Regions from separate parts of the Homo sapiens genome. Here region 2 is linked to region 1. The links are contacts of gene promoters, found by promoter capture Hi-C in blood cells and fetal thymus (Javierre and others, 2016). All regions are on one chromosome and are shown on one strand. Each heading gives the region's core, a stretch centred on a gene start or on the middle of the fragment in contact. The rest is flanking DNA. Distances are from core to core; before and after follow the strand shown. Region 1 holds the start of TEX35 (testis expressed 35). Region 2 overlaps RASAL2 (RAS protein activator like 2).

What was found. The method cuts DNA at HindIII sites, captures the fragments that hold promoters and counts their contacts. A CHiCAGO score of 5 or more calls a contact.
Region 2: a fragment that was not itself captured here is called in contact with the fragment with the promoter of TEX35 in region 1 in 3 of 17 cell types (endothelial precursors, naive B cells and total B cells); the score reaches 9.0 in endothelial precursors.

The regions. Positions count from the first base shown.
Region 1 is chr1:178,510,510-178,515,248 of GRCh38, reverse strand. TEX35 (testis expressed 35) reads right to left here and starts at 2,140. Exons shown (of 9, transcript NM_032126.5): 1 at 2,022-2,140; 2 at 1,172-1,222; 3 at 481-549. The coding sequence starts at 2,060. It overlaps LOC101928866 (a long non-coding RNA gene), which reads left to right and starts at 2,199. Exons shown (of 6, transcript XR_001738307.2): 1 at 2,199-2,607; 2 at 2,967-3,173; 3 at 4,190-4,268. The HindIII fragment of the contact is 3,272 bases long and covers 1-2,770 here.
Region 2 is chr1:178,321,069-178,325,807 of GRCh38, reverse strand. The region is part of intron 3 of RASAL2 (RAS protein activator like 2); the gene reads right to left. It overlaps LOC105371629 (a long non-coding RNA gene), which reads left to right. Exons shown (of 3, transcript XR_922306.3): 3 at 1,399-1,720. Among named protein-coding and RNA genes, the nearest start is that of CLEC20A, 170 kb to the left of the region's middle. RefSeq lists an enhancer at 4,680-4,739. The HindIII fragment of the contact is 2,916 bases long and covers 689-3,604 here.

The DNA of each region.
Region 1 (4,739 bases), core at 891-3,390:
ATAGTCCCAGATACTCGGGAGGCTGAGGCAGGAGAATTGCTTGAACTTGGGAGTTGGAGGTTGCAGTGAGCCTAGATCATGCCACTGCACTCCAGCCTGGGCGACAGAGGGAGACCTTGTCTCAAAAAATAAAATAAAAATAAATAAATGTCAGTGTACCCAAAGAAAAAGAACTGTTCTGTTCCAGATTATAGAAAAGACACCTGGTAATTCGAGGCAATGTGTGATCCTGGATCAGACCCTAGACCAGAAAACGTCCCCTTTCTGTTGTTATGCAACACATGTGTGGGACAACTGGTGAAATTAGAACAAGGGCTATAGATGAGTATTGTCTGTGTGTTAACTTCTGGATTTTGATAATTGCACTGTGCCTATGTAAGAGGATATTCTTGTATTTAGGAAACAGGCACTGAGGATTTGGGGAAAACTTACACTCACGTGGTTTGGAATATAGACATGCCTCCAAGTTCACGCACTCACCTTTAGGTCCTGTGTCACTCCTGCTTTGGTAAACCGCCCTTCTTGTTTAACTGCTTTGTAATCAAATGTCTGTGGATTGAAACAGGAACACAGACCTTTGGGAATTGCAGATGGGCGGTGGAAGTGCAGAGGCAGAAGAGATCCCCCTGTGTTTCTGTTCCTCCCTTAGGGCTAAGGCAAGAGGAAAGCTGGTGGCCCCACCTGTGCAGAAGGTTCCTCTATCCTCCTCCCTCTTTCAGCTCATCTTGTTCCACTCCCCTGCTGGCCCACGGGGCCTCAGCTCCTTTTGTCCCTTGAACAGCCAGGCTCATTCCCACCTTGGGCCTCAGTGCATGCTGCCTCCTCTGCCTAGAAGGCTCTTACTCTGCCTTTGCAAAGCCAGAGTCTTGTCCTTCAGCTCTCAGCTCAAAGGAAGGCCTTTCCCTACCACCCACTCCACGGCAGCCACTCAGACATGTCTCCCTGTCTTGATTCCCAGCAGAGCAGGTAACACTGCTGAATGAGTCCTTGTTCGTTTATGTATCTGATTGGTTACAGTGTGAAGTTCTATGAGAGCAAGAACTCTCAGTGCATCCCCCAGCACCTGGGACAAATCTTGGCCACTAGGATCAGCAAATGACCCCTGACTCCTGGTCACTTCCCCATGGATCTCAGGCCTGGCTGCCTGCATGGCCTCAAAAGGGCTTCTTACTTTGGTCGGCTCTGGCTTCAATTCCAGGCAAACTGCCTTGTAGTTCTTGCTCTGCAAAAAGAGGAGACTGAGATTCAGGCTGGCAGACATCAGGATTGGGGAGGAGAACATCTGGCCCTTGCACGGGAACCCTGCCCCCTGCCCCCCACAACCATGCAACCCTGCCTGTCCAACTGGCTTGAGCTCAGGCTCACAGACCCCGCAGCACCCGGATCCGATTCCTAACAAATCACATCTTGTCGTGCTGTCCTCTTCCTATGGGCGTGTGTCTGCCTATTTGGCAGGCAGCCCTCTCCCTGCTGGAGGCGCCAGCGTGGAGAAAGCACTTTAAGATAACTAGAAGCAAGCCCCGGAAGTGTTGTTTCCAGAGCAAGGGCTTTGGCCATAGGCAGATTTGCACTATAGTCTCAGCTGACCTCTCTACTATCTCTGTTATTTTGGGTGAGTTGCTTAGCCTCTCTGAGCCCCCATTTCCTCATCTATAAAATCGACGTGATGATTATATTTATCTAATAAGGTTATTCTGAGCCTTAGCCCTGCTGGTTAGATGTGGGCCTGGCAGGCCTGGCATGGGCCGTGGAACCATGAGTGGTCTTGGAGTAGGGAGTGCTCCCTTGGCAGTGCTCCTCATCCCCAGAGGGAGGCAGCAGAGGCCTCTTTCCTTCCCACCCCCAAGGCTAGGGATTAATCCCACACCCCTTCCAGACTGAGAGGCTGCTTTATGCTCAGTACAGAGAAAGAAAAACCAGAGATTCATGCGAGCATTCTCTGTATCCCTTGCCCCGACACCATCTCCATTCAGTAGGAGCTCAGAGAGGACCCACACTGTCCAGCAATGTCTCTCTTTTACCAGATGTGTTTTCTTCAATTCTGCCCTCTTGGCCGACATGATGGAGGAGGCCAGGGTGTTCTTCAACTCCCCACAACAGCCCCTGGGACCAGGCCACTGTCCTAGGCAACTTACAGGTCAAGGTGAGGGCAGGGTGACCACCCCTTTGTGTACGGAACAGCTGAGGTCACAATGCCAGGACCCACATGGTGGTCCAGAGCGTCACCACAGCTTCAGGCCTGGGGGGCTTCGGCCACTGAGATGAGGGGTTCAGGCCAGGTTTCAGAGTCCCACCAGGCCTCCCTCTTGCAACAGAAGGAAAGTCCACACTGAGGAGGATCATGGCCTGCTACGGTCGAAGTGCAAGGCACGCGTCAGAAGCAGTGGCTCCTTCTGCAGCAGGACTCACCTACTGACTCAGAAGGACGTCCTCCAGGGACAGCCAGCTCCTCCTCTGAGCGCACAGCCCATGTCCTCTGCTGTGCGCTCCTCGCGCGAACCGACCCCACCTCGGACCGGAAGCCACCTTGGGCTGGAGGATGCCATGAAGTCTCTCTGGTTCAACGTGCATGCACCGTCTCACTTAACCTGGGTTACTCTGTATGAGGTGGGGTAGCCAGTCTCAGCAGGATGGTTTCTGATGCCTCTGACCTCACACTGCCCCTGTCCCACAACCACCCCCAGACCCCTGCCCACCTAAAAATTCTCTTTTCCTAGTTCTTCTATCATCCGGGAAGAGGGTTGGGACAAGAAGCTAAAGATAAGAAGCTTTTCGGGCAAATGAAGAATACTAAAGAAAAGGCCATTCTGCGGGTAGCCATAGTTTGTGCTAAAGTAGACAGTCAGAGGAACATGGCACCCCATGGGATAAAAAATCACTGGGGATCTGGGTTGGTGAAATTGATTTCTCTTTTCCTCTTATCACTGGTCATTCACTTCCTTCTTCCCTCTCATTTCAACTGCTAGTTGCACAGAAAAGGCCAACATGGACATCTGAGGACAGACAGCACAGGAGTACAGGAACTAATGCAAATTGCATGTGAATGACATCCCCATGCAGGCCACTACTGACCACACTTACCCTCCCATTTCACACACCTGCTTGGGACTATCCTTCCTGGAGGCCACTGGAACTTCTGGAGCCACCTGCAGCACTTCTGATGCATTTCCTAGGTGGTGATTTCCCAGCCCTGACACTGGTGACAGCTGTGGGTCTTACTCCACCATAGCCAGAGGAGAATGTGTCTGCCACTGCATCAGCGGAAGGAGAGGGAGTTGGGGGTGGTCACCAGCTTCCCAGGCTTCACTTTCCCCACTTATAAATGAGGGGCTGGAACTTTTCAGTTTCCTTGGACCTTTTAATTCAGCCCTCTCAGATCTGATGGCCTCGTGGTAGGAATGCCCTTCCTCTAAGGGAATTACAGTGAAAATGACTGACTCCATCTCAACATCCACCAGCCCCGTGAAAATGTGCCCCACCTCCTTCTGCTAATTTTGGCTTGGGGGCCTCCTGGACCTGCAGTAGAGCTTCCCTTGCTTGGCTGAGCAGTTGTTAAATGAGCTGCCTTCTAGCCAAGCATAGCACATGAGCCCACTGGCCTATCTATTAGGAAAGAAGGTCTAAGAGAAATCAGGGTCTCAATGCAAAGCTGCATTATAAAGTAAAAAATTATCTATGTATATATACACAAGTACACATGGTATTATCATTTGGGCAGAATTTTAACTACAGAGCCACAGCTCTGGGCTTGTGCCTTCTCACAGCGTTTACTATTCATGTTCTCAAACATTGTACACCATTGTTTTATCGATATATTCTGGCGGGGCTGGGGGAATCCACGTGGCGAACCTGAATACTGATTATTTATTTATGAAGAGACAGGATCTTGCTCTTTCTCCCAGGCTGGAGTGCAGTGGTATGATCATGGATCATTGCAGTCTCGAACCCCTGGACTCAAGCAATTCTCCTGCCTCAGCATCCTGTGTAGCTGGGACCACAGGCATGCGCCACCCCACTCCCAGCTAATTTTTAAAATTTTTTTGTGGAGACAAGGTCTCACTATGTTGCTCAGGCTGATCTCCAACTCCTGAGCTCAAGGGATCCTCCCACCTCGGCCTCCCAGAGTGCTAGGATTGCAAGCATGAGCCACCATGCCCAGTCTGAATAATGATTCTCATATTCTTTTAAGAAGCTTTTGCACCTGCAAGAGAAACGAGGTTGAAGCAGTGTTGCAGTGTTGGTATTGCTGTGGTGTGACTTTGTTCTAGGTAAGCCATAGGACGTTCTTACTTGAAGAACGCCAGACACGCTTTTCCTAATCCCCCTTCAGGGCAAAACCCCTCTGTACCAGGGCAAGCAGCATAGAGCCCACTGCTGCTCCATCGGAGTTTGGGGGAAAAGGAATATTCACAACAGACAGAAAGAAGCAGCCACCTGTCTCTGTTCTCCAAGTTGATATCATTTGGGTTTCATTTTCTTTACAAGGGTCCTGCTTTTTTTTTTTCAGTTTTAAGGATACAGTGTTGTGAGGGGAGGCTGGGGTCGGGGGGAATTTTAAAATGGTTTTAAGCCTCTGAGTTTGGCATTTTGTGATTCTGGGTCTGGCCCATGATGAGGTCCAGGCTCAGCCACTCCCTGCGTCAAGGCCCAGAGAACATGAAGAGAACATCATGCGTGCTGAGGGGCCTATTCGACCACTGGGGGCCCAATGTTCTAAAGTCCTTTGATTAGGGTGGAAC
Region 2 (4,739 bases), core at 897-3,396, 190 kb after region 1:
ATCAACTGCAGTAACACATTTAGTTATAAAAGCTCATCTTTTACTGTAACTCTATACTGTATCAGTGATGCCAAGCCTTATTAGAAGAGGCCAAATTTTCTCTTTTCTCATATTCTGCATACAGTTTCTTTCAGGGAGCCTATCTACCACTATGAAACTTTCTAGCTTTTAGTGGCTACTCCAAGGCTATTTCTATCCAACTGTTATATGCACTGCTAATGATATTCTGCTTTTAAATGTATTTTTTTCTCTTCTTATTTTAAGTCACACCCAATGTATTATCTCATTAGCTCTATCCCTAGCTCATCTAGTTCCTAATACATATATCTGAATGAATACTTCTCTACAATTCCTACCTTTAAAAATTAATTACAAAAGATTTGTTTAAATAAGTTTTTGACTCTTCGGTGGCACTACTCTGATTAAAGTGGGAGGGAAAAAACCTAAAGGCCTTTAAGAGGAAAAAATGAACTGATAATTATCTTTCCTCTATTACTAGTTCTCTTTCTAATTCACTCGCTTTTACTTCCTTCTCATCCTGTGAATTCATGTTCTAGACACTATTTTCTACCTTGAATTTTTCCTATGTTATTCTCTACTCTTCAGAGTTAGAAAGAACACGTCAAACACAGACAAAATAGGAATGTTGTAAGGAGAATTTTTTTAAAAAATGAAATGAATGGAAGCTTCCTGTTGTGCTATATTAAATATCAATCAAAATGAGGAAACATGTTAACATGCAAATATCTGAAGACAACAGGAAAAGAAAATAGGCTTTAAATTTTACAGAAATAAAAGTAACCAGAACAATCCAATGAACACAACAGCTTTATGAGAAACTAGGGAGCTTTCTTGGTTAAGCATTGTTACTAGAGAGACCAGTTGGCAGGTGGGTGCCAAGGGGGTCATAACAAGCCAAAAACTTCATTCCTTGAGGCAGTTAGAGTCTGTTTCGCACATAAAATTAAACTAGATTTTCCACCAATCTGATTTATAAATCCTTCTGCTTGAAATGTAAACTTAAAAGGCTTTGGTAAACAGCATAGCCAATCTTGGGCTACCTAAAAAGAGAGCCATATGCACATGTACAATTAAACGATATTTAGCTAATTTTGCTCAATTTATCTGAATTACTTATTTTTCCTTTCAGAAAAGGTTCTGGGCAGTCAAGGGCCTAGGTCAAGTCTCCAAATATATTTCAAGATGCATTGTAAACAAGCCCACTCCCATCTTTCTACCTTCATTACATAACAGACTGGTGAATTATGACTATACTTTAGAAGAAAGGAAGTGCAAGTGAAAATGGAAAAAAACAAATGGGCAAAGTCACAAGATACAGAGATAGAATGCTTTAAGATGTCACACCTCAAATTTCTTTTCTTTTTTTTTTTTTCCTAGAGATCGAGTCTTGCTCTGTCACCCAGGCTGGAGTGCAGTGGTGTGATCTGCAGCCTCAAAATCCTGGACCAAAGCAATCCTCCCACCTTAGCCTCCCAAGTAGTTGGGATTACAGAAGTGAGCTACTATGACCAGCTTCAAATTTCTTTAATAGCTTAAACCTGTCCAAGCAAGATGAGAAACATAACACCTAGTCTATTATCTCACTGGTTCCATGATTTTATGAGTCAGAGCGAACTGAAGTTTGGCTCAAATCAAAGTTTATGTTATTGCTCCTGCATTCTTCTTTTGAATCATAATAAAAATCTCATCCAACAAGGAAGCTGAGGTTCAGAGTTAATGATGAGAGCATATGGAATTTGAATCCAGGTTAAGACAACTTCAAAGCTGGTGCCATTTTCCACTACCCAGCACAGTCACTGGTAAAGGTATCCTTCCAGACAGAATGTGTTCTAGTTACGGGTATGCATTTTCTTTCCTGAAAAAGTAAACCCTCTATCTGTGAAATAACTGCTAAATCTTCTTGTGTGGTTTTTATATACTAATTAATCTCTTAACAACCTAATACATGTTTTTGTTATAAATAACCTAATATTCATTTTGTGAAATGCAGCAAAAAGGATAAAATGGTCATTTCCTTTCATTAAGATACTTCATTTTCTCTTATCATTCTCTATAAATATAAGAAATTAATAAAAGTGATTTACTATTAATAAAATCTTAAAAATAAACACAAATATCTTGCTCACTAACACAACTATGGTTATGATATTAACCAACAGCACGGAGTTCAGACCTGACATTCACAACCAAGTACACTTGATACTGTGACTTGTTAACTTGGACAATGGCATTTACCAACTTTGTATTTATCAAAACCAATAGTTGTGATTATACTGCTTATAGTCCTGTGGCTGTGCAATGATATTTAGTAATTCTCTAATTTCATTACTAAACGATTTTCTCTCAAGTGGGTATGGTTTTCCCTTCAGGATAAAAAAAAATTACCCACATCTAAGATTATTTTTCACTTTGACATGCTCCACCTGAAAGTCAAGAAAGAGTTTCTCTAGTATGTCTCATATCAGTCATTTGCTCAACAATCAGTCACTCACTCAGCCTGCAGTTATGTACAAAACAACCTGCTATGGTGATACCAAGGTGAGTAAGATACAATCTTGCCATCTAAGAGGTTCCAATCTAGTAAAGATGACACATACCAACAACTTACTGAAAACATAAGAACATACATCCAAATATCAGAAGTACAAAAAGTACTGTTTATCACAAACAAAAATGCTAATGAATTCTGATTAGTGAATGAAGAAAAAGATTGCCAAGAGTTAATATCTTATTGGTCCCTTAGGATAAATGGGATTTCTACATACAGAAGGTAGAAATGAAGGTGGAAAAACAGAGCAAGATATTCCAGGTTTATGCCCTATGTGAACAAAAGCCCATGTGTATTGAGAATGCCTAGGGAATCTGAAGCAGTCCTATGTGGCCAGAACCCAGAATACATACCTGTGGTGGGTAAAAAGAAAAAAGATGATCTTAAAGAGCTAACTCTCAGTCAGAATATATAGGACGTTTAGTGTCACTGTAAATTTGAACCTCATCTTATAGATCAGTGGAGATACAGTAAAAGTGTTTAAACAAGGAAAGTAGTATGATTCAATTAGTGCTCTAAGATGACAAAAGAGCAGTGAAATGAGTTAATACAGAAGGATAAAAATGGAAACAGGAAAAGATATATGAGTAGCTATTCAGATATTTAGGTAGAAATAAAAGAGTAATGTAAAGTTAGAATGACTAGAAGGATGGTGGTCATATTAACAGAACCAACCACCACATGAGAACAGGTTGTTGGGGAGGGAAGGAACAAAGAAGGGAAACTAATCAAAGATAATGGCTTCAGTTTTGAACATTCTAGTACAGACGACCAGTTGGGAATTCAGGTCTGGAACTGAGAAGAGACGAGGAAGCCAAAAATAGAGATTTAAAAGGTACTGGCCCAGGGATGACATTTGGAAACATGAATATAGGTGAAGTCAACTACTGAGAAAGGACAAAGCAAAAGAAAAAGGGTAAGGATAAGACCTTTAGACATCTGCATTTAAAAAGTGGGAAATATTTTAAAAAGTACGGTGAGGCAGGACATAAGCAATAGAGGAAAAAATGTCACAGAAGTCAAGAAAGAGAAGCTTTAAAGGGAAGTCGATCATTAAAAACCACGAAGAGAGTTAGAAGGTGATGAGGACTAAAGTTATGAAACTTGGCCAGATGCAGTGGCTTGTACCTGTATTCCCAGCACTTTGGGAGGCCGAGGTGGGAGTATCACTTGAGGTGAGGAGTTTGAGACCAGCCTGGGCAACACGGTGAGACCCCATCTCTACCAAAAAAAAATTTTTTTTTTTTTTTGAGATGGAGTTTCGCTCTTGTTGCCCAGGCTGGAGTGCAATGGCGCGATCTCGGCTCACCAAAACCTCCACCTTCTGGGTTCAAGCAATTCTCCTGCCTCAGCCTCCCGAGTAGTTGGGATTACAGACATGCACCACCTCACCCAGCTAATTTTGTATTTTTAGTAGAGACGGGGTTTCACCATGTTGGTCAGGCTGGTCTCAAACTCCTGACCTCAGGTGATCCACCCGCCTTGGCCTCCCAAAGTGCTGGGATTACAGATGTGAGCCACTGCACCCGACCTACAAAAATTTTTTTAAATAAAAAAATTATCTGGTTCTGGTGGCACATGCCTGTAGTCCCAGCTACTAGGGAGGCTGAGGCAGGGGAGGATCACTTGAGCCTAGGAGGTCAAGGCTGCAGTGAGCTATGATCATGCCATGCGCCACTGCACTCTAGCCTAGCCACAAAGCGAGACACCAGCTAAAAAAAATAGAAAAACAAAAAAGAAAAAAATAATGAAGTTATGAAACTTATTATCAAATCTCTGATAGTTGGGGGTAATTTCAGTGGCAAATAAAGCCAGATTTCAGGGTATTGAAAAAATTATTAAAAAATTATTGAGGCGGGGCGCGGTGGCTCACGCCTGTAATTGCAGCACTTTGGGAGGCCGAGGTGGGTGGATCACCTTAGGTCAGGAGTTCGAGACTAGCCTGGCCAACATGGGGTGAAACCCTGTCTCTACTAAAAATACAAAAATTAGCCATGCATGGTGGCAAATTCCTGTAATCTCAGCTACTTGGGAGGCTGGGACAGGAGAATCGATGGAACCCGGGAGGTGGAGGTTGCAGTGAGCCAAGATCAAGCCACTGCACTCCAGCCTGGGTGACAGAGATGAGACTCCGCCTCAAAAAAATAAATAAATAAAAAATTATTGTGCA